Linked DNA regions of Homo sapiens: all the other regions are linked to region 3. The links are contacts of gene promoters, found by promoter capture Hi-C in blood cells and fetal thymus (Javierre and others, 2016). All regions are on one chromosome and are shown on one strand. Each heading gives the region's core, a stretch centred on a gene start or on the middle of the fragment in contact. The rest is flanking DNA. Distances are from core to core; before and after follow the strand shown. Region 1 has its middle 43 kb from the start of MIR874. Region 2 overlaps KLHL3 (kelch like family member 3). Region 3 holds the start of NME5 (NME/NM23 family member 5).

Evidence for each region. The method cuts DNA at HindIII sites, captures the fragments that hold promoters and counts their contacts. A CHiCAGO score of 5 or more calls a contact.
Region 1: a contact is called between a fragment that was not itself captured here and the fragment with the promoter of NME5 in region 3, in 2 of 17 cell types (total CD4 T cells and non-activated CD4 T cells). The highest score is 5.1, in total CD4 T cells.
Region 2: a contact is called between a fragment that was not itself captured here and the fragment with the promoter of NME5 in region 3, in 6 of 17 cell types (naive CD8 T cells, total CD4 T cells, non-activated CD4 T cells and 3 more). The highest score is 10.6, in naive CD8 T cells.

Annotation. Positions count from the first base shown.
Region 1 is chr5:137,602,946-137,605,645 of GRCh38, forward strand. No RefSeq gene overlaps it. Among named protein-coding and RNA genes, the nearest start is that of MIR874, 43 kb to the right of the region's middle. The HindIII fragment of the contact is 679 bases long and covers 1,090-1,768 here.
Region 2 is chr5:137,619,729-137,622,428 of GRCh38, forward strand. It overlaps KLHL3 (kelch like family member 3), which reads right to left. Exons shown (of 15, transcript NM_017415.3): 15 at 1-2,398. The coding sequence ends at 2,370. Among named protein-coding and RNA genes, the nearest start is that of MIR874, 27 kb to the right of the region's middle. The HindIII fragment of the contact is 4,842 bases long and covers 1-2,700 here.
Region 3 is chr5:138,137,986-138,140,685 of GRCh38, forward strand. NME5 (NME/NM23 family member 5) reads right to left here and starts at 1,443. Exons shown (of 6, transcript NM_003551.3): 1 at 1,386-1,443; 2 at 667-800. The coding sequence starts at 795. BRD8 (bromodomain containing 8) reads right to left here. Exons shown (of 27, transcript NM_139199.2): 27 at 1,785-2,181. The coding sequence ends at 2,089. The HindIII fragment of the contact is 15,003 bases long and covers 1-2,700 here.

The DNA.
Region 1 (2,700 bases), core at 179-2,678, 540 kb before region 3:
GCCTCAGCCTCATTTGGAACCCTCCCTCACCTTGTATTCCCCTCCAGGGCTGCTTCTGGGCTGGGAGCTGGGGACCATGGTGCCACCTGTCCTGGTGATATCAGATTGAGCCCTACCACTTACCCCTAAGGGGCCTTCTTCTCCAGATGCCAGCTTATCTGGCTACTTCACTATTATCAACAACTACTATGATGATTTTGTAATGCTTCCTAGATTCCAGGCCACAGCAAAATTAAAATGAATATTCTGCCCAGGATCTGCATCTCACAGTAACACATTACCCCAGAAAGATGGTGGAGTCAATCTCCTTCCTAACCTTCCTTGACGGAAATCTTCAGCTCTTCCTAGGCTGTTAATATTTTCCTTTGGAGAAATAAAAGATCCTAAATGCTTCTACTCTGGAAAGCACAGATATTTCAGGATTATTTCAGGGACCAAATGTCTCTGTGGTAACAAGAGACTTTCTTCCCCTTCAAATGTGGGCCTGTGATAATGATTAAAACGATAGACAGGCTAGCTACTTTCCAGCAATCTGCGAAGACTGCAGCAATATACCCCAAAGTGTCTCCAGAGAAAAAAGAGTGAGATTAAATAATTTGAAGATAATTTCTTCTGTGAAAAGAATAATGTTGCCATCAAAATGAAAACTCTTGTAATAAAACCAAATTATGCTGAGACTTTGGGAGCACTCTGTCTCTCTCCTACCATTTCGAGGCAGCGCTTCTACAAAAACAGTGCTGGAATTGTCAGCACAGGGTTTGTACGAGAGGCAGATAGTAAGGCAGATGCCCCCGCTGCCAGTCCCATAGACAGTGTGCTCCAACGGGATGGAACACATGGGCCCAGGTCTAATATTACATGCTAATCAAGCCAGCAAGAAAAAAACAGCAATTTGCTCCAGGGCCTAGGTCTAATATTATGTGCTAATATTAAGTCCCAAGGTCTAACATTAACAGAAAGAGCCTGGTCAACACCTAAGAAGTCAAAACCAACCTCTCTCAGGGGCCTCAAGGGAATCAGATCACCAGGATCATGAGAAACAACAGCACTTATTTCTCTTCCCCAGTAGGGTCCAGTTAGGTGGGGTGAAGCTTTCCCATTTGGTTTGGTGTCTGCACATGGAATAGACCCAGAGGCAAATCTATGTGTGTTGGATCCCAGAGGGCTGAAGGCAGAGAAAGGCAGGAGGTGGAACTTGCAGGGGAAGGAGAGAGACAGCTGACAGGATGCCTCCAGAACCAAATTCTGCCAGGCCAGGGATTTGGGCAAATCATCACCAAGGTTCCTCCAAAGAAAATTACATTTCTGTCCCAGCACAACATGCGAAAAGGCTGGAGATATTTTTTCTTTATATTTAAGGATATATTTGAGATAGTCCGACCTAAAACACAGGGACATATCACAGTGATTTTGGGAGCAACATGAGGTGATGCCTCTTCGTCCAAAGCAGTTGAAACCAAAGTACAGCTATTGGCACCCAAGGGCCAGACCCTCAGGTAAAATGTTTCCATGAATAGTAAGACACTGCAGACACAGAAAACAAACAGGAGTGCTCAGTGTGGGTTCTAAACCAAAAATCAGGAACACAGACTCCCTGGCTTGCAGGATTTGGGTTGTGATGGGCAGCTTCTAACCAGGCAGTGAGTAGCACTTACTACCTGATATTTAATAATTTATCTGAGCCTCAAAAGGGATAGGGGAAGGGGGTGTTGGTCTTTGCAACTAGCCAAACAGAGAGCAGTGAGAAAAGATGCAGAGTATGACCTGAAGCTTCAGTATGACCCGGCACCAAAAGGATGCAGCCCCAAAGAGAAGTCTCTTTCCTCACATGCCAGCTCCGCACTCTCCAGCAGCTGCAGGCTTCCGTGTGTACCTGACTTTCTCCCCACTCTGCATGTGACTCCTAGAGGCAGGTCTTAGTCGTCAAGGGATACCCAGAGCCCGGTGGGTAAACAATGAATAAATCTCTCAGTCTAAGGCCTGAAGCTGGTGAGGTTAGTGACTTTGCAGATCCCAGCTCTCCCATGCCCATTCCTCCCCTGCTCTGCTGAGCTCCCTGCCTCTTTCAAATTCTGCTCTCCAGAAGGGACATTTGCTTACTTCTCAGGCAAATTTATCTGCTCCACGACTCCTGCGTTTTAAGCTGCGTGCCTGGGATGAAATATGTTGTTCCTACCTAAGACATGCCTAGCCTTTGCAGACTAGCAGAGGCGGGCAGCAGGTGGGGGGCGTGGAGGGTGCTGAAGAGAGATTGGGATTGAGATGGAAAAGCATTTGATTTAGTGCAAGTAAAACATAGGGAGAAAGCAGGAAAAAGGCAGAGGAGCCTATAAGCCCCAAAACAAAGAGCATCACATCCCCTGAGGGAGAGACCAAGGAGAGGATTAATCAAGGTTTTGATGCCACACAGACCTGGATTCCAATCCTACCTCCGTTTTTTACTAGCATGCAATTTTGGGCAAGTTACTTGACCATTCTGAGCCATTTCATCATGAGCACTATGGGGATGCTAATGCCAGGTGCTCAGGACTGTTATGAAGAGTAAGTGAGCTGGTGCAGATAAATTATTCAGGGGAGTGCCTGGCACACGGAAGAAATTCGAGAGCTGGTAGCTGTTAAGCTATTTGTACTTCTAAATCAAACAGGGGCCTCTGGTGTGCAAGTAAGGTATTTTCCTGTGCTACAGGGCAGAACTGACTG
Region 2 (2,700 bases), core at 12-2,511, 520 kb before region 3:
TTGGCAGCACGCCCAGTAGAGGCAGTGCTTTGTAGGGAGGGAGACATGAGGTGAAACCAATTGCAAAAATCCAAAAACAGAAAACATGACTGGCTAGCTTTCAGTGGAGGGACCCTTCCCCGGAAGACGACACATAAAAGTAGCCTCTCCCGCATGAAAGTCTAGCTTCTCAGTGGTGGGGGAGGGGCAGGGAATTCACCTATCATCTGAAATTGAGAGCTTCTGTGAATGGCATACATCAGATCCCAACCCCAGCCTCATCCCCATCACACAGACACACCGAAACAAGTCTCAAAATTTCCTCAGAGAAGGAGAAAGGACATTTCTCATTCCATCAGCTTCCAACCCACAGCCAGGTAGAGTTATGAAGCCACAGTCATCCCCACTTCATAGTGAGACCAGAGCACTCAACTAAAACATGCCTTGCTTCCTTTGGAGACATTTCTTCCAGGTCCCCCAAAGCTGGATATTTTAGCCTCTTCTGAAGGCTTCTAAAAATTCTGGGTACCTTGTTGTTCTCCAAGCATCTTGTTGAAGTAACATGTGCTTAACATCAGAAAGAGAAGTTTTGTCTTTAGGAGAGTTGCACATTTAGGGCACAATAAATATACAGTAAATACACAAAGTGGCTCACTGGCTGGGAAGACTTCGGGGTTTCTAACTGCAGGGGCTGGGGGATGCCAATCTCCTGCAGCACCTGCTTGGAAGTAGCCCAGTCGTATCAGAAGTCCAACATCAGGATTTATAAAGTTCCTTGGCTTCCTGTAGGTGGATTCTCAAAGTAGGGAGGGTGTCCCAGACTGCAAGGTATGAGACTATTCTCCAGACACAAGACTTCCCCTGCTTATGCCAGAAATTTCAGCATGAGCAATTTGCTAGTTTAGGAACAGCACAACTTTAAGGTTTTTTAAATACAAATTACTCCATGCCCCCTCAAATGCCCGCTCCTCAAGATGCTTGAAGTTCTATTGTTAATAATTTTTACCTGTGAATTAGCAAAGCTCTCACCAAGCTCCCTTTTTAAAATGCAAGCACATCTTAGGAAGCCTCAAATCCAAGGCCCACTGATATCTCCTACCTCACAGGGAAAGCAGTAGTGGGGTTCTTGGGGGTTGGGGAGAGGGTGCACACCCTGGAATAGGGGGAAAGCACAAGAAAAAGAAGACAAGGACATTAGACAGACTTGACCACTGTCACAAAGTGCCAAGGGCCAGCTCTAGTGGTATATTCCTTTGAAGCCATCCAATGTCCATCTGAATCACACACGACCCCATCCAACACAGGCACAAATCTATCTTTGGGTCTGGAGGAGGGTGACCTCTTATTTATCCTCCAGACCAGAACACTTCTGAGTAAAATGGGGTGCTGTGAATAATTAAACTGGGATAATAAGTATAAATGGGGACTGTCCTGTCCTGGGAAAACCTAAAAGTAGGACCCTCTCTGAGACCATTATAGGCAGGAACTGAATCCTTACCACTTTGGTTTTTTGTTTTTTTCCTGTTTTTGTTTTGTTTTGTTTTGTTTTTCAGTGTTACCCGAGGCTTCTCTGAAGAGCTAGTTTTCCCAGCTGAAGAGACATAACACCTCCCAGGCCTGGAATCTATGACATCAAAGACCAATGGCCTAAACCTGAAGACTGGGCAGTTCTCATCTGCTTCCTGTAGGAGAACTCAAGGAAAAACAGTGAGCTGAGAAGCACAGGGAACCCATTTGTCCCTTATTCTAGCACACAGAGGACACGGTGCAGCTTCGAGAATTTTCCAGCTCTTCTGCAGACAAAGTCACAGTAGTTAAAGTACATAAGTGGGTGTGGCCAGAGAACTGCCCCTCTCACTGGTTATTTCTGGACATTCCCAGACTGTCCAACTGGACCTTCAGAAGAAAGCAGCTTTAGTAGTCTCAGGGTCCCCATGGGACAAATCCAGAAGAGAGGTCTCTGTGACTTGATTTTTAACACAGCGAAAGGATCAGTAGTAAAGAAATCCAGTAGACTGTCACACACGCTCACCCCCCAACTTAGAGAAACATAGAGAAACACCATGGTCTACACACACACACACACACACACACACTCCAGGGTCTGTATTGTCCCTGTAGAAACACCAAAACAAAGCCCAAAGGTGCTGCCTGGGGATGTCAAGACCCCCCTTGCTCAGGGCATAGGCCAGAGCACCTCAGGGGAACGGGGGTGGGTAATGGTGTCCACACTGCGATGAACAACACCAGTCTGCCAAGTCAGAGGAGAGCGGTTCTCACAGCAGCACAGACCCTCCCAAGCAAGTTGAATCCAGTCACCAAGGTCCTGCTGTTCAGAGTCACAGGCAGCACCTGCTCCTTCCTCCACCTCCTGGCAGTAGGAGTTTGGGTCACAAGGACTTGTGAATCACGGCAACACCTAATAAGAAAGGGGGAGAAAGTTATCATCTTAGCTTCTCCAAAATTACTCAGAGTCCCAGTGAGTTCATGAATCCAAGATATCCTGAGTCACAGCCAAGGGAAATGTGTGCAATTTTTATCCTAATATTGAAGTGGACTCAGGCTGCTAGCAGCTGGCTGTTCCCCACTCCAACAGCCAAGTCCTGGCAAGACACTTGAACCTACGAGCACAGTCCCTCAAACACCACTGACTAGTGGCCTCACCCTGTGTCATCACATGGACTCACTGTGGTGACTCCCATCCCCAGCCCTAGCACCCAG
Region 3 (2,700 bases), core at 193-2,692:
CAGAGGGAGACTCTGTCTCAAAAAAAAGAAAAAAAAACTATAAAAGAGGAAGATTAAAAATATTCAATTCTATTTGATTTATCCTTAACAATGCTATTTATATTCACTTTCAAACCCCTAGAATGACAATGTTTACTAATTGCAGAACATAAGGCTTAAAACATTAAATGTTATGCCATAACTGAAAAAAGTACCAATAGCCTAAAATTCCATCAATAGAAGATCAAGTAAATAAATTGTAGTTCTAATACACAGGGAAATATTACACAGAAATTAGGAAGAGTGAGATCAATTCAGATGCAATGATCTGGAATCCTATCTGAGGGACTCTGTAAAGGGGTCAAGGGAAAGGGACTGTTCTGTTTTATGGGGGGAAAATGTTTATAAATGCATAGAAAACTCCTGGAAGAACAGAAAGTGTTAAGTGGTTGCCTCTCTCTGGAGCCTGGGACTTGGGGTAAAAGAGGACAGGTGAAGGAAAAGTCCATTTTATTTCTCATTTTACATCCTTTTAAAAACTATCACATATAACTTTTATACTTAGAAGAATAAACTTAAATTTAATGCTGAACACTAAGGGTTTAAATGGGTAGGCACATTTACATAAGCATTTTTTTTTTAAGGGCAGAGAGGAAAAAAGCATGAATCATCATACCCAGAAGTTACCTGAACAATGGTGAATCCGGATCTAAGAATAATATCTTGTATCTCCTCCTCTTTGTCAACAATATCTGGTTTGATAATGGCCAGAGTTTTTTCTACATATATCTGAGGTGGAGGCATTGATATCTCCATTATGGCTTTTCAGGGCACAAATTAAGAGTTTCTTAACAGGTATCAACTGCAATGACATGCATTTCCCCCCACCCCCATCGCAAATTCAATGTAATTATGATTAAGAATAGCAATAGTAGGTACTTGATTTTATTAACTGATGAAGGTAGAAACTGCCATGTTTTTCTATATACAGGGTCTCAATAATAGGATTCCTACTATGTCCAAATCGAGCCCCGGCTTTTCGTATACGATGTCACCAAGGCAGGAAGGACTATGGGCTCACATAACCAGAGGCCAAGGGGCGACCCGAAGGCCTGGAACCAGCAACAGCCCCAGGCAGCAGAGGGCGGTGGGGCGGGTGGTGGGGGCTCGAGGGGGCGGTAGAGCGGGTGGTGGGGGCTCGAGGGGACGGTGGCTGGTGGGCAACCACACACCATTACAGCGGCGGGTGAGCGGCCTCGGCCAGCTGCCTCTGTGAAGCGACCCTGTCCCGCAGGGACCTCTCTGTGCATAGGGTCAGGCTAATTGAAAAGCAGGGCCTCTAGGTCCGCGGGGACTTTCCGGGTTGCACCTGCAAATTCTGAATTTGACCCTCTCTAAGTACTCACCTCAGCGGCCGTCCTCATATGGTACAACTTGTTGCTAGGAGACCTGAAGCCCCAGCGTGGGGACGGTGGCTGCAGAGAGCCAATCCCAGCAAGGAACCTTGCAGCTTCTGGCCAGTTCGTTTTAACCAAAGGGAGCCAGCCAGTCACTTTTATTCTCCTTGTGAATCTTAGAGCACTAGATGTTTTCTGACATTTTACTCATAATTTATCTTATTTCATCCTTCTTCCCGTTTGAAGGATGCTTCAATTATCCCTACTCTATAAATGATAAGAACCCCTCCCCCAACCATTCCTTTCCAGGCGGTATATGTAAATGACCCGTGTCAGATACCTTCGTTTCACCAGATGATGCTGTGCCCTCTATGCCCAGCTTATCTAGTCATTAAAAAGCAATATTCCTATTGTGTAAATACATTTATTTATAGAGTAAAAGGCTTAGAAAAGATCTAATGGAATTGTCTTTAAATCAAGCCGATGGAACAAAGATGTGGGCAACATTTATGGCATAAATCCAAACCTCAGCTTCCCCTTTTTTTCTTTATATTATGTCCACATGCATCTTTGACTCGTTGGTTGTGAGTTAAGGTATTATTCTTGTTGGAAAAGAAAATGAGGACATGGCAAAGAAGTACCAGGATCCTCTCTAGGTCAGAGTTCCGGGAGAGATTCAAACTCTAGAAAAAGTCAGGATAGCAGCTCCAGGTTAGAAAACAGGTTTTCCATCATCCACTGGGTTAGCTGGTTCTCCTTCCAGACTACTTGAGCCTTTTCTTTTGTCTAACCAGATATTCAGTACCTAAAGGGTTAAGGAACACATAGCAAGCTATTATGAACCTTAAACACTAAAGTATTGCAAGTTTATTTTTTTGGCAAATAGACTCAACTATACTTTTTTCTTTAAAGTATGATGCTACCCAGAAAAGAAACCCACAAATGTCTTCTAGCTACTATATCTTATCCCCTAAAGATGGGAAAGTGTGAACGTACATTAATAACAACAGATGAAGCAACCAAAAAATACACAGTGACTCCAGCCTCTTTGGAGTTTAGCCCTTGACTTGAGGCTCTGGAAGCGGGAATTCCCATTACTTGTCTATCCTCAGCTCTCTTGAGAGCTCTTCACTGCTGCCTGCATTCCTAGACTACTTCACTATCAGAGCTGGACTTACTGAGGCTCAGGGTTTTCCAAACCAGCAGGCACATTATCAATCCTTCAGGGCCTTAATCACCTTTAAAAATAAACTCTGAGAACACAGTCACCTCGAAATCACCTTTATTCTCATAGGCGTTCTGAAATCAAGATTCCAGAGGCTAC